Linked DNA regions of Homo sapiens: all the other regions are linked to region 2. Evidence: promoter capture Hi-C in 16 types of primary human blood cells and fetal thymus (Javierre and others, 2016). All regions are on one chromosome and are shown on one strand. Each heading gives the region's core, a stretch centred on a gene start or on the middle of the fragment in contact. The rest is flanking DNA. Distances are from core to core; before and after follow the strand shown. Region 1 holds the start of FAM174A (family with sequence similarity 174 member A). Region 2 holds the start of ELL2 (elongation factor for RNA polymerase II 2). Region 3 holds the start of ST8SIA4 (ST8 alpha-N-acetyl-neuraminide alpha-2,8-sialyltransferase 4).

Evidence for each region. The method cuts DNA at HindIII sites, captures the fragments that hold promoters and counts their contacts. A CHiCAGO score of 5 or more calls a contact.
Region 1: the fragment with the promoter of FAM174A here is called in contact with the fragment with the promoter of ELL2 in region 2 in 1 of 17 cell types (total B cells); the score reaches 5.5 in total B cells.
Region 3: the fragment with the promoter of ST8SIA4 here is called in contact with the fragment with the promoter of ELL2 in region 2 in 6 of 17 cell types (total CD4 T cells, total CD8 T cells, activated CD4 T cells and 3 more); the score reaches 8.0 in total CD4 T cells.

What each region holds. Positions count from the first base shown.
Region 1 is chr5:100,533,621-100,537,049 of GRCh38, reverse strand. It overlaps FAM174A (family with sequence similarity 174 member A), which reads right to left and starts at 1,676. Exons shown (of 3, transcript NM_198507.3): 1 at 1,086-1,676. The coding sequence starts at 1,519. FAM174A-DT (FAM174A divergent transcript) reads left to right here and starts at 1,807. Exons shown (of 5, transcript NR_172939.1): 1 at 1,807-1,889; 2 at 2,898-2,970. RefSeq lists an enhancer at 1,418-1,717. The HindIII fragment of the contact is 3,135 bases long and covers 1-2,053 here.
Region 2 is chr5:95,959,906-95,963,467 of GRCh38, reverse strand. It overlaps ELL2 (elongation factor for RNA polymerase II 2), which reads left to right and starts at 1,617. Exons shown (of 12, transcript NM_012081.6): 1 at 1,617-1,893. The coding sequence starts at 1,747. LOC101929710 (a long non-coding RNA gene) reads right to left here and starts at 1,467. Exons shown (of 5, transcript NR_130776.1): 1 at 1,432-1,467. It also overlaps a transcript of CAST not described here. RefSeq lists silencers at 1,061-1,528, 1,484-1,723, 1,794-2,203 and an enhancer at 1,008-1,765. The HindIII fragment of the contact is 3,633 bases long and covers 371-3,562 here.
Region 3 is chr5:100,901,762-100,905,239 of GRCh38, reverse strand. It overlaps ST8SIA4 (ST8 alpha-N-acetyl-neuraminide alpha-2,8-sialyltransferase 4), which reads left to right and starts at 1,958. Exons shown (of 5, transcript NM_005668.6): 1 at 1,958-2,397. The coding sequence starts at 2,285. It overlaps LOC107986437 (a long non-coding RNA gene), which reads right to left and starts at 1,832. Exons shown (of 2, transcript XR_001742825.3): 1 at 1-1,832. RefSeq lists enhancers at 556-795, 1,576-1,815, 2,301-2,870. The HindIII fragment of the contact is 2,860 bases long and covers 1-2,411 here.

The DNA of each region.
Region 1 (3,429 bases), core at 427-2,926, 4.6 Mb before region 2:
TGGAATCTGAAACAATATCAATGAACTACTTGTACCCTATAAGCCTGTAACAGAATGTATTATTTTGAAAATAGTTTTAATACTGTAGATGCCCTGAAGAGGTCTAAGTGAAACTCCCACCTGTGTGGTTCCCTGGCCCACATGTCAAGAACCACTGGCTTACACTATTTTTTAACTAGCCAAGTGATGTTGGTTTTCCATTCATGATAATAACGACTTGTTTAAAAGGAAACTTTTGCTTTAAATAATCAGTTTAAAGAAATATGTTAAATTACAATACAGAGGGTATTTATGGGAAAAACGTGAATTTTGAAAACAATAAACAAACATAAGCTGCAAACCTACCCTCTACACTTATTTTATAATGAAATAAACTGCTAGACAGCTTTCCCTCACCTTATCTCTTTGCTGGCTTCTCCTAATGGTGAGGTCTTGGCTCTGTATGTCAACTCTTCAGGAAGGTGATTCTCTGCCACTTAGGTGGCAGATTAAAGGGCAATACTAGGAAACACTGATAGTAAGGAAGAACTTTTCTTCTCCTGAATTTTATAAAAATAAAATATCCATAAGGCACCTCTATATTACTATTAATCCACTCAAATATATATTGATTTCCTATTAAGTGGCAGCATTGTACAAATAATTTGTAAGACTCACAAACCTACTAAATAGATATCCTGTCTTTAAAGAGTTTGCATTCTGATTGGCAAAATTTTGACCAGTTAGGTATACAAAAATTTAGACTAGAAAGGTAGAAGTATTACAAGACAGAGTAGTCAAAATTCTAGGGAATAAAGATTATCCTCACTTCAGAGAAAGGGTGCCCTTTGAGGCTGACGTGGGTTGTAGGTCAGATGAAGAGATTTGGAGGTAGGGCACTCATTTATAAACAAAAGGCAGCAATTAGTTATAGGTTTAAATTGCTCCAAAGGTAACAGGCCTTTAAGAAAGTCAATATCATATTCTTAAGCAGGAGTCCCTGATGCTGGGGAAGGGGGAAAGGGTCACAGAAGTCAGCCTTGCTGGAGATCACCGGCCTGCGTATCTCAGGCCCACGGGGGTGCCCCACCGAGGCTTTGCCTCACCTGACCGTCCTGACCACGAAGTACACCAGCACCGCGCCGCTCACCACCATCAACACGGTCAGGGCCCGCTGGGTCATGGGCTTGTCGCCAGGGTTGGGGCTCACAGCAAGGCCGCCACCCACCGAGCCTTCCCCGGCCTTCCCTCCGTGATCGTCCGTCTCAAGCCCGGCCACAGGGTTGCTGCCATTGCCTCCCTCGGAGCCCCGCGGCCCCGCAGCTTCAGCCAGACCACGGCCCGGCTGCTGGGCAGGGGTAGGGCCCGGTGGCAGCGGCGGTAATGTCCGTGGTCTAGGGTCAGGAGGCCCAAGACCTGGCGCGGCCTCGGCTGCCTGCAGCAGGACTGCCAGGGGCCCGCTTAGTTCAGGCAGCAACAGCAGGAGGAGGACGGAAGCCAAGAGGTGGCTGAGACAGCAGCAGCACTGCGAGGCCTTCATCGTTCCCGGACCGCTCTCTCACCACCCGGGAGCCGCCAGGCCCGCCACGCTGGCTCCAAGAGGGACCATAGGCGCGGTGGAGAATGAAGCAGAGGTGACCAAACGCCAGGGAGAGGCCCGGTCGTGGCAGGTGGCAGAAGCTACAGCAGTGGCAGCTGCCCGGAGAACCGGAAGTTCGTACATCTCAGCGGCCACTGCTGCTAAGGACGCCTTCGGTTGCTAACTTGTAGGGGCGGATGCACTTGGTGACGTCAGAGGCCTAGCGCCCAGTGCGCACGCGCACTTGTGTAAAAAGCGAGGACGTGACCGTTTTGGAAGCATTGTTCTTTTCACTGTTAGTGAGGAGCGGTCAAGGATGCGTATTAAGAAAGTAAGTAGACAAAAAGAGATTGTGTAAAATGTACAGCAACTCTCTCATGCAGGAACCCTGAGAGATTGGAAACTCATAATCTGAATTCATTGGTGTCAAACTGCAATAACACATTTAATCTGTAAGCCAGAAGGGCTTAGTTTTCCTTAGCTTCATTACAAGCTTTAAGCAGGCTTTTTTTCCTGCCTATGGGTCCCTGACCTCCCTTTCTAAAGAGCATTTGCTTGTAATGAGTTCATGTCCTTTGTAGGCACATGGATGAAGCTGGAAACCATCATTCTGAGCAAACTATTAGAAGGACAGAAAACCAAACACTGCATGTTCTCACTCATAGGTGGGAATTGAACAATGAGAACACTTGGACACGGGATGGGGAACATCACACACCGGGGCCTGTCGTGGGGTAGGGGGGAGGGATAGCATTAGGGGATATACCTAATGTAAATGACGAGTTAATGGGTGCAGCACAGCAACATGGCACATGTATACATATGTAACAAACCTGCACGTTGTGCACATATACCCTAGAACTTAAAGTATATTAAAAAAAATTACTTTAGAAAACTTTACCATTGTAAGTTATTTCTCTTCCCTTTTCAGATGTAAATATTTTTTAAAGCTTCTGGCCAGTTATATAATTGAAAACTATCTCAAGGGTATGGAAAGCCATCATGCCTTTGAAATATAATCAGCAAGGAAGGTAGTGGGCCATCTCTTATTTTGTGTGAGAGGAAAGGAACCTAACTGTTGTAGGCTTCTCGCTTCAAGTTGTAAAACCACCTCCTGTCATGGAGGAGAAAATTTACTTTTCCTTTGGGTAAAGTCAATCAGCAAACTCAGGTGGCCGGTGATCTTCCCAAAATAGCTCTTAATAACTCTCCACTCCTTTTTTTCTTTTAGAGGAGTTGAGATTAGAAGAGTTTTATCCCCTTTCCCAACAGCAGTAGTCTTCAATAATGTCTTCCTTGCCTGTTTGACTTCAGTAATATGGAACTTCAATTTGTGCAGATAACTAGAAGTGGCCGCATGATGTACCTCTCACCAATGAGATGCCTGTCAAGGGTATACGTGGGTCTTTTGAGTAAGTTATTGTTTTCATTGCTAAAAGAGAGACAGATACAGGTAGATATATACAGAGAGAGAGCCAGAAACACACACACATGCATACACACACCTACCTCTCTCATTATTCCTTTCCCCCTTTCACTTGCCTGCCCTCTCTGCACAGAAAGTTCTGGCCCTAACCTTGAAAAGAATATGACCCAGCTAGTCCTCTGATCCTAGTAGACTGTGGGATATCTGGCGTAAACTATGACTAAACCTATAGCCTGGCACCAAATGCAGCCAAGGTTAGCTTAAGTTAGTCAACCCCAGCTTGACCAAAGAAGTGAAAAATAAATGCTTATTTGCTGTATGCCACTGATATTTCTATGGTTATTGATTATGCCACATTATTCTAGCAATAGTTGATTAAGAAGCTAGAATCAAATCATGGTATTAATTAGGAGAATATAATAATGTGGCAGTAACCTGATACAAA
Region 2 (3,562 bases), core at 368-2,867:
CAATCTTAGTGGATTGAAATTAAGTCAATTTACAAACTGTTTTCCTGTGATGGAGTAACACTTAATACAGGTGTTTCCACTTAATCCAATTCATTCTGTAATTCACATTATACACCTACTATGTTTGAAGGTCTGAATCAAAAAGGAGTGTACCCGTACGGTGGGGAAGGCATTTATTGGGAGGGGAGGACATGGAATCATGGCCCTAATCCATTTAAAATAATGAAAAATACTGATTAAATATCTATAAACTTTCCCGGGGAATCCCAGTAGAACAGAACATGGTTTTATAAGCTGAGGGTAAAAACAAGCGTCTCAGTTTTTTTATTAAAAGAACTTTTTTAAACTGCCTTTCAACAGTTTGAAAGCTTTCAATGGTTTGTTTTATCTGGTGTTTCTGATCAACCAATTAATCCATCCTCTGACAGGAACCCATCTGTCAGTCTATCCACACACAATCTGAAAGGGACTCCAGATTAGGCTCCCTCTTTTAGCCACGCCTACACAGGAAGCATCCTGTGGATGGAATGGAAAGTATGCCAGGCCTTTGCACGCCCCTCACGCCCCCATCTCCTTCGCTTAACCTCGACAGCCTCTTACCTTTAAACCCTAGCTAGGTTTTCACACAGCCCTATCAAATAAAAAGGACAATACTCAAACTGAATTAGAGAATGAGAATTGTCGAGGTTTCTTTTAATTTAGATCAATGCCAGTTTTACTCTTCTTCTAGAGTCCTTTTTAAGGAGATATCATCCCCACCAGTTGTGATCCCAGAGAATCACAACAGGGCATGGCGTAGGAAAGACCTCGAAGCTCAATTCTCTATTATACCATGCCCACCATACGAAAGGCATTTAACCTCCCGCGTGATTTTGTCCTTAAGATGCTCCACAAGATCTAACACAACTCCTACATCTAAGAGTCGACTCACTAATTTCAAGGGTTTTTGTTTTTGTTTTTGTTTTTATAAGCTCTGCGTGTGGCACCCGATAACTTCAAGTTTAGAGTGAGCAGTTTCCTCCCAATGCCGTTTGCTCAACTACAGTACTAGGAGTTTTGAGGAGCAGCTCTCTAGCGAGTCCTCCTGCTGCGTCCTCCCCCACACGCACGCACCAAGTTCCACAGCTTCCGCAGCCGTCGGGGAACAAAGTCCTTATTTGGTCACGGCCATCCCCTTACATAGTGGAGGTGGAGATCCTCCTCTCCAAGGACCACCCGCGTAGGGCGAGATTCCCCAATTCTGACTTTTCACTACTATCCCCCACAGGGGCGGGGCTCCAACTCCAGGTAACCAGACCAGGCAACCTGGACTTCCAATTAGCAGGGGAGTCCCCAAGCCAGCCTGGCCAATCTCGGCCGGCTAGCCAAGACGACCAGACGTGACGTCAGACATGATTAAGTTGGCGCGTCACCTAGACGTCAGCCTCTTACCTCTCGGACGTCCCGTCCCAGGAGCAAAACTCTAGTGACTTTGGGCCCGCCCCCGTGAGAGTGGAGGGCGGCCGATGAGGGCGGTTCTGAAGGGAACAAGACCAATGAGACGAGCCCGGGGCGGGGCGCGGGGCCGGAGGGTGGGGCGGGTGGCGGCGGTGGCAGTCCGAGGTCTGGCTCCGCGCAGTATATGACAGTACGTCAGCAGCGGGATGGCCCTAGCAGTGGCGGCGGCTGCAGAAGCCCAAGCAGCCGCGGCCGCAGTGGAGGCTAGAGCCGGAGCGGCGGCGGCGGCGGCACCCCGGGGAGTTTAAGATGGCGGCGGGGGGGACAGGGGGCCTGCGGGAGGAGCAGCGCTATGGGCTGTCGTGCGGACGGCTGGGGCAGGACAACATCACCGTACTGCATGTGAAGCTCACCGAGACGGCGATCCGGGCGCTCGAGACTTACCAGAGCCACAAGGTGAGCGGGCCGGCCGGCAGGCTGGGCTCAGAGAGGCAGAGCGCACCCCTCACGGCCTGGCCGCGCCCGGGTGCGGGGCCGGCGGAGCCGTGGCTGGCAGCTGCTACCGTCAGCGCCCGCAGCGGCCAGGCAGGGCAGGGCCGGGCAGGGTGGCTGACGCCGCGGTCCCGGGCTAGCCTGGGCGTTGGGGAAGCGGGCAGTCGGGCGGCCCCTGGCGGCGGGGCCGAGGCAGCCGCAGCCCTGGGTCGGCTGCGCTGCCGCTGCGGGACTTTCCGACGGCCCCCGAGGATTTCCTGGCTTGTTGGGTCCCAAGGAGGGAGAGAGGCCCCGATAAGAGAAGTGAGATGACCACGCTACCCTCGGCGGGGAAGGAGGGTAGCGAGCAGCGTATGGGCAAGGAACCAGGGACGACTCGCGGGCACCAGCTGCCCGCGTTTTCCAGTTACATAGGCACGGTGGATCCTCAGAGACAGGACACAGGCGCTCCGCGTGTGGGGGTGGGACCTTGTATTCCCAGGGACTTGGGGACACAGGCGCTCCACGTATCAGGGGACACACTGTGTGCTCGAAGGGATGGGGACTCGGGCGCATGGTGAGGGGCACACGGTGTACTCATAGAGATAGGGACTTAGGCAGTCCGTGTAAGGGGGCGGCGCACACTGGAACGGCGGGGACACTGGCGCTTCGCGTACGGGGGGGGAGGGGACACACCTGCATTCCCAGGGACTCCGGGACACCGGCGCATCGCGTTACTGGAGACGCGCCGCGTCCAGGACGGACACAAACCAACACAGTGCCCTGGGGAGAGACCTGAGGACTCACGCACACTTAGCGCTCCCCGGGAGCAAGACATCGGGTTCTGGAGAGAGAGGTTCACGGACGCTCAACGTACCCGAAAAAGCTCCCGGCGTCTTGGGCTGACTCTGGGAAGTGTAAACGGGGAACGAGCCAGAGCCAGAAGGTGTGGGGAGGATACAATGCATCCCGGGCAGAGACTCGGGCCTCTCACCCCTCGTTTTCGAGAGAAGCCCATGGACACACACACACACATATACACACACACCCCTCCAGTACAGAGAGAGGCTCAGATAGGCGCACATACACTGTAATTGGACTACAAATCCAGACGCTTTCATGTTGGAAAAAAAATGGGAGAGACAGGGAAGCACCGAGAAGGGACGCGGTAACCAGGGTGCATGGGGAAACAGTTTATGGACATGCAGTACTGTGGGAGACCGGAGTGGATACATCGCGTGAGGGAGGGATATGCCATATGGGGGAACCTGTAACGTTTTACAGGAGAGGAGAGAGTCGGAAGGGAGATAGAACCCACGGGGCATCTTACAAATAGCCCGTTCGGTACTGAGGAACACACTCCAACCGGTCTCGTACAACAGACAGAGGGGCAGAAGGACACCGAGACACAGATTCACATAGTTATTCAGCTAAAAGTGGGGAAAAGAATTGACATCTGTTGAGCTCCCACTAGTGCCAGGCACTTTAAATACATAGAGCGAAGGCAGAGTCTGAGGCAGAGCGGCAGGAGAGGTGTGAACCCTGGTTTACTGGGAGTGTATTCAGAGAGCCCCCCCACCCCATAAGTGTGCACACAGAGGAAGGCATTAGTTGTGCACGCTTTGGATAGAAAATGAACTCACATGATAGGGTA
Region 3 (3,478 bases), core at 709-3,208, 4.9 Mb before region 2:
CCTTTGAGTGAGTAGGATTTGTGTCTGACTAGATGCTAAGTTTTATTCATCTTTGTGTTCCCATCTCCGCACACATTGCCTGCCCCATAACCATTGCTTAAGAAATAATGAGTTTAATGAAACGATGCATATTACTCTATCCCTGACAGAGAGTGATGTTTTACCTATAATCTAAAATATAGTTGTCTACTGTTTAAAAATCAAAGTTTATCCTTGAGAATTTAGCATCCTAACCATGCATCCCTCTCCCACCCGACCCCTGCCCTCAGCCCCGGATCCCTTTTAACTTAAATAAGAAGCTGTTTTATTCTGGCAGTTTTTGCCAGAAGAAAAGTGAGTCTAACAGAAGTCAATCTAACAGAAATGCATTAATGCAGGCTGGATTTGCCTAGACATCAATAAACTCGAAAGGCTCCCTGTGGGCCACTTGTAGTGTCAATAAACGTTCGTAATTACTTGCTCCTTGGAGCATTTTTATACCCGACCCCGTTCGCTGTGCTGCAAAGAGGAAATTCAAGATCTCGGAAGTTCTTAACTTCTTAAACTCTAGAGGAAGTATGGTAAACACTGGCGGGAACCTTGGGTTTTTAAGCAAAGATGCTGGCTGTTTTCGTTGCTATTTTAAGCTGTCAGGCGACAAGCAACTCAGAATTCCCCTTCTTACTTCCGGCGGGAGGGAAGATTGGAATTGGGCCTCATCATTTCTGAGCGTGAAAAACCGCTGAAGCTACTGTTCAACCTGAAGGAACACGGAATTCAACTGGAGAGAAACCCTGGCGACCAGGGAGCTGGGGACCGGCGCATATAGATGAGGGAAATCCTGGCTTCCAGACACTGTCTCATGCTAGAGGTGCCTCCCGACCTACCAGCCAACAGTAAAGACCGGAACCAAGGCGTGGTACTAGCAGAGTAGCAAGCATCTCTCCCAATGAGGGCAACGACTGGAGGATGGTGGAGAGGTACTCAGAGTGAACAATCGAACACAGAACTCTTGAAAAGTGTCCCTGCCACCCAATACAAGTACGAAAAATGGTGGGACGGAGGAGAGGTGACAATCAGAGGCTATATATATAATTGAGACTTTTAGAGAGGACTTTGCTCTTCCTTCCTCCCCTCCCTTTTCTTTCCTTTCTTTCTTTCCTTCCTTCCTTGGTATCCGAATGTGTGTGGGTGTACTTGCGTTTAAAAGAGAGGTCCATGGTAGCTGCTTTTTTTTCAGAACTCTGTTTCTCCGCAATGAAGTTTAAGTGGGATTGGAGTTTCCTTGACTTCTGCGTGAGGAGTTTCCAAATGGCAATGAAAGGGAGGCGCATAAATATCCATAAAGTTCCTAATGACACCTCTATCATCACTTGTTTCCTGCAGAATCCTGAGCCAGGGTCGTCGTCCACCACCCATGCAGAGTGGGCCCATCGGCTAACAGGTTCATGTGTGTATTTGCACTTTCCAGATTGAGTAATAAAAGTCTTCTTCCTTCCACCGCCGTCCCCACCCCCGCACCCCGTTTCACTCCACCTTGGAGGGCGTGTTTTTGCGTGTGAGGGTGTGTGTTTAGCAAAAGCGATTGAAAGAAGGTACTCTTCTTGCAATCCACCCCTAGCTCTACCTGAAGCATTCCTCTGGCGGGACGCTTTTGTAATCTGTCCCCAGGCGAGGTGCCCTCTCACCTAGATGCGGATAGACTATCTTGGAGCTCCCAGGTCCAGAGAGCTGATGCTTTGATGTCCCAGGAGAGTGTGTGTGATTCTGCGTGTACGTGTGTGTGCATATGTATGTATGTGTGTATGTATGTATATGTGTATGTGCGCGAGCTCGCAGGCGCGTAGCACTGTGAGCTTCCTCTCCCGGCACAGAGCAGGCAGAGCCGGGGACGTTACTCTCCAAGCAGCCTCCGCCCCCTCAGCCTGGTGATTGGCTTTGCGCAGCGTTTATCTCCTAGCAAGAGGGAAGGGCCAGTGACGCCCCCGAACCCAGCTGCAGAAGCTGCCGCCACCTCCAATGCACAAGGTGTCTCATCTGAAAAGAAACCTGAGCCCCAGGGAGGCGGCGCGGAGCGACCCTGGCAGAGCTGGCGCAAACAGGGCGAGAGGTCGCTGGGCAGCGTTCGAGGACCAGAGGGAGCTCGGCCACAGAAGACCCCAGTGATCTGATCCCGGGATCCCGGCTCCAAGCTCTCCTCGCATTTTACAGATTTCACCCCCGCGACTATCTCCCCAAAACGGAGCCTTTATATCAAGAGAAGGTGCGGGAGCTGGGGCAACCAGGACTTTCTCGGGCACCCAAGATGCGCTCCATTAGGAAGAGGTGGACGATCTGCACAATAAGTCTGCTCCTGATCTTTTATAAGACAAAAGAAATAGCAAGAACTGAGGAGCACCAGGAGACGCAACTCATCGGGTAAATGCAAAGCTTCATTTCAGGATATGACAAAAAGTCAAGCCATAAATGAAATGTGAATATAGAGGGTAGAGTGATGGTTAGGATAGCATGTGTGTTTGTTTGAGCTTGCGCGTGGTTAGTGTCATGAATTAAATAACAAAGGCTGTTGTTGAGATGTGCGTGCTTCTCTAAGCTGTTCCCAGTATGAGTTCAACTTGCTCTGTGTGGTTGTGGTGACAGTTGTGTTGGCCCTGGGTGCTCTCTCGCCAAAGGAGAAGTCACTGCAGAAGTGTCAACAAAGAACGTGTGTCCTTGTCCTTTTAATCTGTGGGCAGAACTCAAGAGAAATGTCTTTATTCACCAAACGGTTGCCTGTTTTCAATGTCCTATCACCTAAGGAGATACTGGAGATAGATGGTTTCTCGAAGGGCTGAAGTTAAAGCTTAGAAAGCAGGAAATAGGTATACTCTGTTTCTCTACTTTTTTTTTTTCTATTTGACGTTGGATAGATTAATGTGTTATAATTTGAATTAGAAACTCCAGTACCACTAAGGATACTTCCTTATTTGTTCTTCTACGGCTAAAACGCATGGGCGTCATGGTTACAGTTTTAGAAAGAAACTGGGTACTGTAGCTTCACACAGACTATATTTCTGCTATTTTTTTTAGTTTGTCTAGATGAGTTCAGACTCTCCCCCGCCCCACTAAGTTCTCTAAATATCACACTTCCTTCCACCCGCTGGCCTCTGTGTCTTTGAAGTTTACCCAGGAGGTGGTGCAACTTTGTGTTGCTGACATAGCTTGGAAGGCTTTTTCTGAGGATGTGAACCTGATTGTCAACTCTATTCAAAGTCCTGTTTCGGAAATCCTCCCTGTTCCGGTTTGGAGGCGTCCTCTATCAGAAACTACACACCAGCAGAGATGCCTGCCCAGTTTATATTTTTCTCTGACATTGATTAAAACAAAGAAAACAGCCCTTGCGTGTGTGTGTATGTGTGTGTGAGAGAGAGAGAGATGGGACTGCTAACACACACACATGCTCTTAAACTTCCTGCACTCCATTTCTTAATATTCCTGCTCCCTAGGTAATAAGCATTTA